Linked DNA regions of Homo sapiens: regions 1, 3 and 4 are each linked to region 2. Evidence: promoter capture Hi-C in 16 types of primary human blood cells and fetal thymus (Javierre and others, 2016). All regions are on one chromosome and are shown on one strand. Each heading gives the region's core, a stretch centred on a gene start or on the middle of the fragment in contact. The rest is flanking DNA. Distances are from core to core; before and after follow the strand shown. Region 1 has its middle 47 kb from the start of FRMPD3. Region 2 holds the start of MORC4 (MORC family CW-type zinc finger 4). Region 3 has its middle 110 kb from the start of DNAAF6. Region 4 overlaps FRMPD3 (FERM and PDZ domain containing 3).

Region 1 (3,056 bases), core at 101-2,600, 400 kb after region 2:
CTGTTTAGAAGCCTTGTACACTTTTTCTGGTTTTGCTCTTAGATATTGGATGTTTTTCAATGCTATTTTGTTTTTGTTTTCTAGCTCGCTTTTAGGAATAAACCCATTTGAGAATACAGATATTTTTCATATTTTCTTCCCATAATGACAAATAGAAGAAAAACTGACAAAGGGGAGTTTTATAATTTTTAGATGAAGCAGGATGTGAATACAAAGAGAAAGATAACAGCATTCCAGACTGATGATAGTGAAACTGATTATGTAAGTGAAATTTCAGATTGTGAATCTTCTTCAGACGAAGATATCTTAGATGAATTTTTTCAAACTCAAGAATTGACGAGTGAAGAATGTTTATAAAGACAAAAAAGAATGACAAAACAAAAAAGACACAAAAAAGAATAACAGTTACTTAATAGGACTTTTTTTTTTTTAGATGGATTCTCGCTCTTGTCGCCCAGGCTGGAGTGCAAAGGTGCGATCTCAGCTCACTGCAACCTCTGCCTCCTGGGTTCAAGTGATTCTTCTGCCTCAGCCTCCAGAGTAGCTGGGATTACAGGTGCCCACCACCACACCTAGCTAATTTTTTGTATTTTTGGTAGAGACAGGGTTTCACCGTTTTAGCCAGGCTGGTCTCAAACTCTTGACCTCAGGTGATCCACCCACCTCGGCCTCCCAAAATGCTGGGATTATAGGTGTGAGCCACCACACCTGGCCAGAAGTACTTTTTATGCAGTATTTTGGACATGGAACTGAACCAACACTTTTTGCTAAAAGGCCATGTGACCACATTCTATGTTTTTATGATGTTTTTGTGACAAAATTTACTTGATACAAAGGCAAGAGGATCACTTGAGCCCAGGAGTTAAAGACCAGACTGGGCAACAAAGCAAGATCTTATCATTACAAAAAAAATTTTTTTTAATTACCTGGGTATAATGGCATGCACTTGTCATCCTAGCTACTTGTGAGGCTGAGGCAAGAGGATCGCTTGAACCCAAGAGTTTGAGGCTGCAGTGAGCTATGATCACACCACTGGACTCCAGCCTAGGCAACAGAGACCCCATCACCAAAAAAAATTTTTTTTAATTTTTAAAGAAAGAGAGTATACTTTCTCTGTTGAATTTTTGTAGTATCTTTGTCCAAAATAAGTTGAATATATATATATATATATATATATATATATATATATATACACCTAACATTTAGATATGTTGAAATTATATATTATATATATTTATTTGTACATATGCTATTTTGTTCCACAGATCTGCATGTGTATTCTTACATCAATACCACATTGCCTAGATTAGTAGAGTCTAATAGTAAGGCTTAAGGTAGTGGGGAGCTGCGGAGGAAGTGGGGATGGTTAATGAGTACAAAAAAAATTAGAAAGACTGAATAAGACCTACTATTTGATAGCACAACAGGGTGACTATAGTCAATAATAACTTAATTGTACATTTAAAAATAACTGAAAACATGTAATTGAATAGTTTGTGACTCAAAGGATAAATGCTTGATGGCATGGATCCCCCATTCTCCATAATGTGCTTATTTCACATTGCATGCCTGCATCAAAACATCTCATGTACCTCATAAATATATACACCTACTATATACCCATGAATATTAAAAATTTTAAAATAAAAACGTTAGAAATCAGGTAGTATAAATACCACGATTTCACTCTTTCTCAAAATCATTTTTGATATTTTAGGTTCTTTGAATTTTCATACAAATTTTAGAATCTTGTCAATTTCTACAAAAATATGCTAGGATTTTAATTGAGATTGCCTTGAATTTATAGGTCAATTTTCAGAAAACAGACAATGATAGGAGTACAATTAATTTTTATATATAGATCTTGTGGCCTGGAATCTTGATAAACTAACTTATTTTGCAGAGGAAGTAGCTTTTTTTGCAGAGGAAATGAAGGGAGAGACTATATACCGTTCTGTCAAGACATTTGGCTGTGGTAAGGAGTAGGAGAGAGAGTAGTTAGCCGAAGGGTAATGTCAATTTGAAAGTTTTTTATTATTTGGCTGGATGGTTTTCTTTTATTTTTATTTTTGCTCTATTGTATTAATGAGAGAGTTTTAAACAGGTTTAAAAGCTGAAGGACCCAAGAGAGAAGAAATACTTTAATATAGAACAGAGAAAATATGATCAAATCATCAATAATTTAAGGAGGGTATAGAATTTTTGTTCTGTAAAACACACCCTTCCTTACCAACACACATAAACATGGACTTCCCTACCCTTCATCCTTCCAATAGAGTCATGTTGCAATTATTATTTAAACTGATGTTTGTTGTTTACATTATTATGACTATGTCAATATCTATCACTGCTGAGTCAAGTTATACTACGATTATATTTCTTCTCTTCTACGTCTCTTTTCTCCCTAAAGTTAGTTTGTCCCTTTTAAAAAAGTGTTGATTTTTTATTTATCACCAATATTCCTTAAATTCCCCTTCCCCAAATACTTTTTCACATGATCAAAGGAATCTAGAATTCTGTCAGTTTCATATTTTTAATGGAGAATCTGTCCTACAGGCCTCAATTCTTTTGATCCACTCTGGACTGATTGCCCTCTAGGCTTGCTGCACAGCTACCATCTTAGTGCTTCCTTTCATTCCCCTGCTATATAATGGATTTCCTATTTCCTGGGTCCCAAACAGTCCTGCCTCTTGGAGCCTTTCCTCTAGTCACTTCCTAAGAAAGGATATATGGGAGGTAAGTTTTCTTAGATCTTACTTGTTTGAAAATGTATTTATTCTAAGCTAAATCTTGGTTAATAGCTTTGCTAGGTATAAAATTCTTATTTAAAAATAATTTTCTTTTAGAATTTTGAAAACATTTTTTCATTGTTTTCTAACTTCCAGTGTGCCTACTAGAAATTCTGATGCCATTCTGGCTCCCCAATCCTTTATATATAACCTGGATTTTTTTCTGGAAGCTTTTAATATATTTTATTTATCCCTTATGTTCTCAATGTTTGTGATGATTTGCCATAATGTAGCTTCATTTTCATTAATTGAACTGGGCACCTGTTG
Region 2 (2,811 bases), core at 212-2,711:
TTCTTATCACCCTTCCAAGTAAGTCCCCTGCTACCCATTGACTTCTTACCCAAGATAACTCTCATGGCATGGCCACAGCGACTGCTTAAGTAGAGACCGGGGTTCATTTGGGGAGCTTTGAAAACATTTTCAAGAGTTTGTTCTGTGCAACCTTGCCCATAAACACTTCTTCCTTCTTTCGATTTTCAAAGCATGTATAATGCGCCCTGTATGCTGCTGCGTTTTGTGCAGGACTGCGTTTCTTCTTTGCTTTCCACACAGTAGCACACTACTGCAAAAACTGGTGTAATTGGCTTGAAGGGATCAACTGAAAACACTTTAAAAGCAAACACCGGTGGAGCGAGAGGTTAAGTCCTCAATATTCATTCCAGCGGTGTGAGGGCGCTCGTGGACCACGGACCCAGCCCTCCGCAGTAGCAGGGAGCCAAATGCACTCGTGTCATCTCTTAAGAGATGTCCCATCATTCCTAACTTTTCTTGTCTCAAAAGTTAAGGAACTCCGCTTTCCAGACCTTTCCCCAGGACCCGCCTCGGTCCTCTACGCCCCTTTGCTAGCTAGGCATCCTCCGTCGGTCGCCAGCCCCTGCGGACCCAGCTGCCTCAGGGCCCGAGGTTTTTATGCATCTCCTTTTGATTACTAACTAAGCTATCCTAAAGTGCCCGAACGTCACGAGCGCGAGAGAAAAACCACACTGGTGTCTTTAACGCTTCAGACACACCTCGTTTCCTCCGTTTTATGAGCGGAACCTAGTTCCTGGCGAGAGAGCCATCCCCCTCCTCCGCCTGCGGAGCCGGGGCCGGTTCCGAGGCCCCCACCCCAGCCCCGGCCCGCCCCGCGCGGCTCTGCGCATTCCTCTCGCGTCCGCGGCACCACGCTGGCACCACTGCCTCGGGCGAACACGGCCGGGCCCGCCCTCGCCACTCACCTAGCAGCTCCGCGATGGCACTGAAGGGTCGCGTGTGGCTGCTGGAGTTGCTCTGGAGGTAGCGGGGGCTCATCTGGGGGCGAGAGAAGGTCCCGACCCGCGTGAGGCCTCGGCCCGCCGGGCCCTCCCCGCGCGCCCCCCGCAGCCCAGGGGCCCGCGCGCGCGTCCGCCCCCTCGGGCCCCGGACCTACCGTGCTCAGGCGGATCCCGAAGGCCTGCGGGCCGCCGCCGGGCCGGGCCAGCCCGCAGCCCGGCGCGCCAGGGCCGGCGGGGGCCCCTCGGTACAGGAGCATTTTTTTGGCCGCCACGGTACCCGTCTGCTGCCGCCGGACCCCTGGCCCGGCGGTCCGGGACTAGCCCTCGCTCACTTCCACTCGCAGCTGGCGGCGACCGTCCGGGACCGGCCCTCCCTCGCTCCCACTCGCAGCTGGCGGAGGCGGAGCGCGCTCCAGCCACCTGTCCCGGGCGGGAGGGGTGAGGCCGGCTGAGGCAAGCGGCGGCTCCGCCCTGTCAGCACCTCTACCGACCCGGCGACTGCCCGGGCTGCCTCTGGGCCGTACAGAAATATGGCGACCTCCTGACAGCCGCTCCTTGATCCCCGCCCCTAATTAATTATTGGCGTATGCCATAGGCCAGGCCGCCGAGCGGGAAAGCGCGGGGGGCGGGGGTGGCGCGTGGGGAGGGGCGTGAATGAAGCAAGAGGAGGGAGAGCATGTATGGGATTTCTGGAACCTAGTCCCGCTTAGGCTGCATGACTAACAGGCAAGATAAGACAAGTCTTTCAAGTTCTAAAGACTACAGTGTTGCTATCTGGGAAGATAGCAAGCTCGCCTGATGGGAAAACATTCTACCTACTCTGCCTCAAATGCCTCCAGAAGCACCCAGAACTTTCTGGAAGGCAATTAGCAAACTATCTCCAAAGTCTTGCTAGCATGCAGGGACGGTGTTTCTAAAAGGAGAAATTGGATTCACTTAAATACCGCCAAGTAGGGGATTGGTCGAGTTATGAAGTATGCATAAAATGAAATACCATCCAGTTCTTGAAGGCCATGTTTGTAGATAAGTATGTGTTGATGTAGAAAAATATTCATGAAGGAATGAAGAAAACAAGGAGTTACAACATATTGTGGAACGCATGATGCCTTTTCTATTGGAAAAACAAATATATATGTATACATATATACATATATATATATGCATGCATACACACATATACACATACATACATACATATATATATACACACACACACACACAACGAAAACCACTTGATATACACCAAGATGATATCTCTGGGTCTGGAACTAGACACTTTTTCCTTTTTTCTTACCTGTGTTTTCTAATATACTATAAATATACACTGATAATAGAAAAACAGATTCATTAAAAACATATGTAATGTTCTATGGCATGAATGAACTATAATTTATTTGACCATTCCTTTATGGTAATTTAGGTTGTCCTCTTTTTTTAATTTTGACAATACAAAAAATGCTCCTTCACACACTCGTGTACAGGTCATTAATTTCTGATACTGTTATCTCCACAGAATGAATTCCAAAAGATGAGACTGCTGCATCTAATAGCATGTGCATGGTTTAATCTTAATAAATACTGTAAGATAGGCAATTTGCCCTCCCAGCAACAATCAGTGCTCTTTTGTCATGTTCATAGCACTAGATGGTCCCAATCTTTTAACTTTTTGATAGTCTTTTCAATAAAAAATAGTATCTCCTTATTGTTTTAATTTGCATTTTCCTGACTACCAGTAAGGCTGAATATCTTTTCAAATGTTTAGTATACATTTGCATCTCCTCTTCTACAAATGCCTGTTTATGTCCTTTGAGCATCATTTTTTACCCCCATTGGGTGCTTTACATTTGTC
Region 3 (2,851 bases), core at 75-2,574, 320 kb after region 2:
TGGTGAAACTGCAGATTATATATATTTTTGCTTATCTTCAGCTTCTAAATGTCTGCAATAAGCTGGCCTTGCTGTTAAATTGTGAAAAACAATTATTTGTATTTTGAAAGCTCTTGCTCCCTATTGAGAGAAAAAGAGGTTGGAACAGAGCAAAACAAGGTTGAATCTGAGTCAACTCAATACTTGAAGGATCATAGTAATCTTTGGATCTTCCTGGCCCAAAAGAACAAATAGCCAAGTACTCGCAACTCAGATTACTTAAGGTGAGAAAACAAATCAGAAACTCTAAGGCTACATTTGTCACTCAAGTCCAGTGTCTGTTTTTTTAACATAATTTTGACAAGTCTCTCATCTTTCATATTTGTTTTCTCACCTGTAAGTGGGGAGAATTCCTTCTACTCTTCTTCTTCCTGGTAATGACAGGAATGGAATTTAAAACCATAAACAAAAATCATCGTCAAATACTTCACAGTCTTGATTCTGTCCCCACAAGCAATGTGAACATCTTAGAAGGATCTCATTAGATAATTTCATCAGAATGTGTGACTGTGTGTCTGTAGTGTGTGTGTGGGGGGGGGGGATGATAGGGAGATATTAGTGATCAGAGAGCCATTGGGCTGACAACCTGTTTTAGGGGCTTGAGGGAGATGCCAGGTCTTGAGTAATTTCTGTCACTGGGCACAGGCAAATGAATTCTATACTGGTAGCCCTTGGGGACATTATCCAGCTGAGAGAACTTAATTTCAGGTAATCAACATGGTCCTAGTTGCCTTCTACTTGTTGATGGGGAGAAGAGCCGGGGAAATTTGCTCTACCTTACACACTCCTGCTAAATCTTACTCTCAGGCCTGATTCCTAAAGCAAAGTGGGTGACAGGGAGATGAGGCTATGAATGGGGAGATTTGGCTAAAGGCAGCAGAGCTGCAGTGTAATGTGATGTGAAGTAGCAGAGCTCACAGCACTTCACCCAGTGTAGCCCACAGGAAATATGCATTGGAGAGTTGCAGTACCTTCATTCATTTAGTCTTTCCAACAGCAAGAGGTTGGGCACAGTGAGGTTTAGAGGGGCCTGGACTGCTAGGTTTATGTCTAGCACAGTATAAACAGCTGAAAAGCAGTAGCTGCTATTATTCTCACCAACATTATCATTATTTCCACCACAGAAAGGGCCTTCTGATCAATACCTCTTCCAGTCCCCTGTCTAGGCAGTATTTCCCATCACCCTCTTCCTTTCTTGTGCACTGTCCTACTCTGGGGAGCTTAAATCATTCCTTTGAGGTAAAACAGTGAAGACTCTATTACAGTTCAGGGGTTTTCTGGGAGATGAGCTGCCTTAAGCCTCTCATTCATCAGTAACTTTCCAGAGTGAGGAGACTGGGCAGCTGGGGTGGGGTCCTGAGAACTGTGTGACTCCAAAAGGAGGGGTTGAGAAATGAAGTCACTGGGGGTACTGAGCCTCACAAAGTTGCCTCAGATAAGACCAATCTGTAGTGTAGGTAGCAGGGTAGTGGAGGGGGACCCGAACCAAGACTGAAACTCAGGCTGGCTCACTGCCCAGGCCTATAGGGATCAGGAGTGGGAGAGAGAAAGGCAGTGTAAGTCAGGAGAAGCCTCTTTAGCCTCAAAGCCGAGAAGACCCCAACTTTTGGGAGGAAGAGTTGATCCAGACTGGTAGAAAGAATATATGCTTCCCTTTCCTGGGCTCTCCAGTATTGTGAGGGGAGGTCTAAGGAGGTGTGTGAGTGTATGACAAGATGGAGAAGGACGCTTATACTCACAAGCAGCAGGCTGGGCACTACTTTGGACAAGCCGACAGAACACAATAATTGATTGCCTTCTAGCTACAAAATCAAAATGGCTTTTGATGTTCAGCCATTCATTGCTGTAACTGGAATAATAACACAATTCATTTTAGCTGCAGCCCCGCAAATGGATGGCTTTAATAATGGTTAATTTGGGATGATGAATGTGCCATTTGGGGGTGACATTACTGCTGAATAAGAAGAGCACACAAGAGACAGAGGGAGGAAAGGAGGAGCTACATAAGACTAGCCATGTTTGCTAACTTCTGAGGCTGCCAGGCCTTCAATTCCACTCCACAAGTATTGATTTAGCAAGTACTTACTTCCTAGCTAGCACTGGGCTGAGGGTTGGAGAGACTCTCAAGAAATATATGATTAGGATAGCCATGTGTCCTGGCTTCCCAGGGACAGTCCTGGTTTGTGATGAGACCTGGGGCAATTATTATTAATAGCACCTCTTCTCACTCTCAAAAGTGTCTTGGTTTGAATGGTAAGTTATATTGTCATTCTGCATGGCTCACGCTCTGCTTTCCATGAGAACACAGCTTTTCTGGGGGAAGACAAGTCTTATTTATGCACATAGAGCCATTATAGCATATTAGGAGACAGTATGTAACCAAAAAATGAACCAAAAAAGCTCAAGCACCCAAATCAATGCTCATAATTTAAAAATTGGTGATGGTCATGGATTTAAATATCTTGAAGATAACATTCACATGCATGTAAATGAATCACCACAATATACTACTCACTTGATCTTTACGATAACCTCATCTTATAAATGAGCCACTAGACACCAAGAGAAAGGAGTCAATTGCTCAAGGTCACAGAGCTAGTAAGTGACAGAGTCCATATTTGAATCCAGAACCATTTTAACTTAAAAGCCACCTATATTTCGCCTTTGGAACAGATATTAGTGCTGCCTGGAGTGATCAAAAAAGCTCATGGAGGAAGTGAACTACTTCCAAAGAATGAATCCACAAGTAAAAGTGAATAGAGTTTAAAAAAATGAAAGATGTAAGCTAGGAAAGAGACAGTGAAGAAATTAA
Region 4 (2,818 bases), core at 4-2,503, 460 kb after region 2:
GGTTGTTATGTCTCTAAAGGCCCTTTCAACAGCCCTCTCTCTTTGACTTGTCACAGAAATCAGGTTGTTTGCTCTGCACAATTCCCACATTCTGGTTTGTCCTCTTATTGCCAGTTAGCTTGTTCACCTATCCCCTATATTTTCTATAAATGGAAGTTAGCTCTGGGCTTGATTAGATTCAAGCTCATTTTTCTTTTTTTCTCGCTTTGGCATAATGATTAAAACAAGATCATTCTGGAGGCAGGAAGACCAGTTAGCCGGTTGTTACCATAGCTGGTTGGGGACAGAAAGAAGATGGGTGAATGTATTTGGAGGTAGAGGAAACCTGATTTACCTACCAATTGAATGCGTGGGGTGAGGAAGAAGGAAGAGTCAAAGATGATTCTAAGGCTTTGAGCCTGCATAACCAGGAGGGTACCAATGTCATCCTATGAGAAGGATGAGTTTTTAATGAGAGCAGCAGGTATCATGGTTAGATTAAAGGAGGAACTTTCTCACTTTCTCACAGTAAGAGGCCATCTGCTCTGTTTTTTTTTTCCAGATAATACTATCTTTCCCAGAAAAAAATTTGATTCGTGGTATAGCTAAACATTTGATAATGTTTGGAAAACATTTGGAAAGGGACTCCGTATTTTTTGTTAACTGCAAATAGTTAAATTTCCAGCTCCAGGGCCTTGAGAGGGAGGATAGTATATACAATTCTGGATAGAGAGAAGGTAATGCTGATATCTCCCTTGCAGATGAGCCTACTGTCCCATATCATCATGGGTTTCTGAGTCATCAGGCTTGGGTAGGAGAGTGTAGGATGCCAGAACCTGGGATTTCTCTAGACACAGCCAATGAGCATAGCTCAAGATCCATGTCTTTCCTTGATATTGGCTGAAGTCTCTATCCCACACCCACTCTTCCACCCAATATGGAGGCTGTGTGGACCCTCAGTGGACCATGGCAACAGTGTTCTTGCCAAAGTCAAAAATTGCCTAAAAGCCCTGGGATATTCACTGGACTCTGACAAAGCCCCAAGATTATTTCGACACCTCAGTAGGAACTTGCTTAACTCGTTGAATTGGATTAGGTGAGAACTACTCTCAGCTCCATCCCATCATACCCTCCTTCATAAAGGCTTTTCTCTCTCTTCCTTCCCCTAGCTCATCTTTCTTCTTGCTTTTTCTTCTGCTCCCCCCTCCCTGCTCTTTCTCTTCCAGCGTACATTTATTCTCTCAAGTTAATCAAACACTGGCCCCTACAGCCCATTGTGCCTCAGATTGATCACTTAAGTAGCGTTATTGATTGCCCAGAAAACCTTAGGAGGTGGGAGTGTTCTGAAAGCTAGGATCTGACAGCTGATTGGCTGCCTATGTCTCACTCGGCAGCCTCAGCTCCTCTGCCGTCTGGAACATCTTTTGAGAAAGGTGAGGGAATGAACAGCGGAGATCCTTAGCGGGCTTCACTTATCTCATCCTTCCTTCATACTGGAGTTAAGGCATGGGAAGAGAAGTCTATTGACCACTCCAGGATCTAGCCCTGTACTAATGTTATGGTGAGAAGGGGAAAGCAAAGGCCCTGCTCTCTGGAAATCCGTAATTTAACAGAAAAATAATACTCATTCATATGAAGTAACTAAGAATAATACAAGATGGAAAACAATTATGTGCCACATTTTTTTGCTCTAAACAGTAAGCACTGTAGGGGTTCAAAGCACAGAGAGAATGAGAGTGTGGGCTGGAATGAGGGGAGAAGTCTTCCCAGAAGAAGTTGAACCTGCGTTATGTTTTGAGTAACATGTGAGATTGAGATTGTTGACTAGAAAAGGAACAGGCTTCTGAGGGGGAGGCACAGCATAGGGAAAAGGCTGGAGATGGAAATGGTCAGGGTGTTATCAAGAAAGGGTCAGAAAGAAGTCTGACTAGAGGAGAGGGTGTATATGCAGGCACAGTGGGGAAAAAATGATTGGCTGGGTATGGGACTCCCAGATTTGAAGAGTCTCTGATGTCAGAAGAAGTTTGGACTTGGGTAAACCTTGGGGGCTGTCGGACAATTATGCATAGTGATTCAGGATGGTTAGCTATGCAGTTGGAAGCAGAATTGATTGGAATAGGGAGAGACTTGAGACCAGCCTATAAGATACTACAGCAATCTAAGTGAGAGGTGATAAGGGTGGTGGCAGTGGGCATAGAGAGGAGGGTCAAATCCAAAAGGCTCTCAAGGCATCGGTGTGGCTGATAAACCACCAAGTAGATTTTCTTGACTTGTTTTTGTCTCACTCGCTCCTTCCTCTTAGCCTCAATACTTACACTTTCTTTGCCTCATGCCCTCAGGACCTTAAGGTGGCAGAGTTTCTGGAGCTAAGATAACATTGGGCATTATAATCAGTTATCCTTTCCAAGTAAAGTAGATGCGCACAGGGGCCTTCAGTACCATGACCTGAAAGAGTGAGCAATGAGGAATCTGGCTGCAGAATGCAGTTGAGATGATAGCCAAGCTGGGGTGCTGAGTATTACATCCCCCAACAGGGAGGCCGGAGGCAGGCGATGCCTGTGTCTGGTCTGTTTCAAGTCCCCCAAGGCTTCTGAGAGCTGGTAAGAGTGAGGAAACATCTTTCAACTTCCCTGGTAGAATCAGTTTGAAAACTCTTCTGAGCACTTGGGAATCATCTCAGTGAAGGTCACACCTGTGCCAGAGTATGGCAAGAGCTACCACAGCACTTTGATGCCAGCTGGAGCCCTGTTGCAGCTGGTATAAGGAAACTAAGTGAGGAGTCCACAGGTTGATGGGAGAGTCATGGCCAGGGCCTCTGCCTGCTAAATTGCCTCCCCCA

The links. The method cuts DNA at HindIII sites, captures the fragments that hold promoters and counts their contacts. A CHiCAGO score of 5 or more calls a contact.
Region 1: a fragment that was not itself captured here is called in contact with the fragment with the promoter of MORC4 in region 2 in 1 of 17 cell types (M2 macrophages); the score reaches 5.3 in M2 macrophages.
Region 3: a contact is called between a fragment that was not itself captured here and the fragment with the promoter of MORC4 in region 2, in 1 of 17 cell types (M2 macrophages). The highest score is 5.6, in M2 macrophages.
Region 4: a contact is called between a fragment that was not itself captured here and the fragment with the promoter of MORC4 in region 2, in 1 of 17 cell types (total B cells). The highest score is 6.7, in total B cells.

Annotation. Positions count from the first base shown.
Region 1 is chrX:107,400,845-107,403,900 of GRCh38, forward strand. No RefSeq gene overlaps it. Among named protein-coding and RNA genes, the nearest start is that of FRMPD3, 47 kb to the right of the region's middle. The HindIII fragment of the contact is 3,214 bases long and covers 1-2,957 here.
Region 2 is chrX:106,998,751-107,001,561 of GRCh38, forward strand. MORC4 (MORC family CW-type zinc finger 4) reads right to left here and starts at 1,462. Exons shown (of 17, transcript NM_024657.5): 1 at 1,118-1,462; 2 at 927-999. The coding sequence starts at 1,219. RefSeq lists silencers at 1,227-1,436, 1,447-1,526. The HindIII fragment of the contact is 4,977 bases long and covers 1-2,811 here.
Region 3 is chrX:107,319,093-107,321,943 of GRCh38, forward strand. No RefSeq gene overlaps it. Among named protein-coding and RNA genes, the nearest start is that of DNAAF6, 110 kb to the left of the region's middle. The HindIII fragment of the contact is 4,381 bases long and covers 1-2,851 here.
Region 4 is chrX:107,456,697-107,459,514 of GRCh38, forward strand. All of the region lies in intron 1 of FRMPD3 (FERM and PDZ domain containing 3), which reads left to right. Among named protein-coding and RNA genes, the nearest start is that of FRMPD3, 8.5 kb to the left of the region's middle. The HindIII fragment of the contact is 9,275 bases long and covers 1-2,818 here.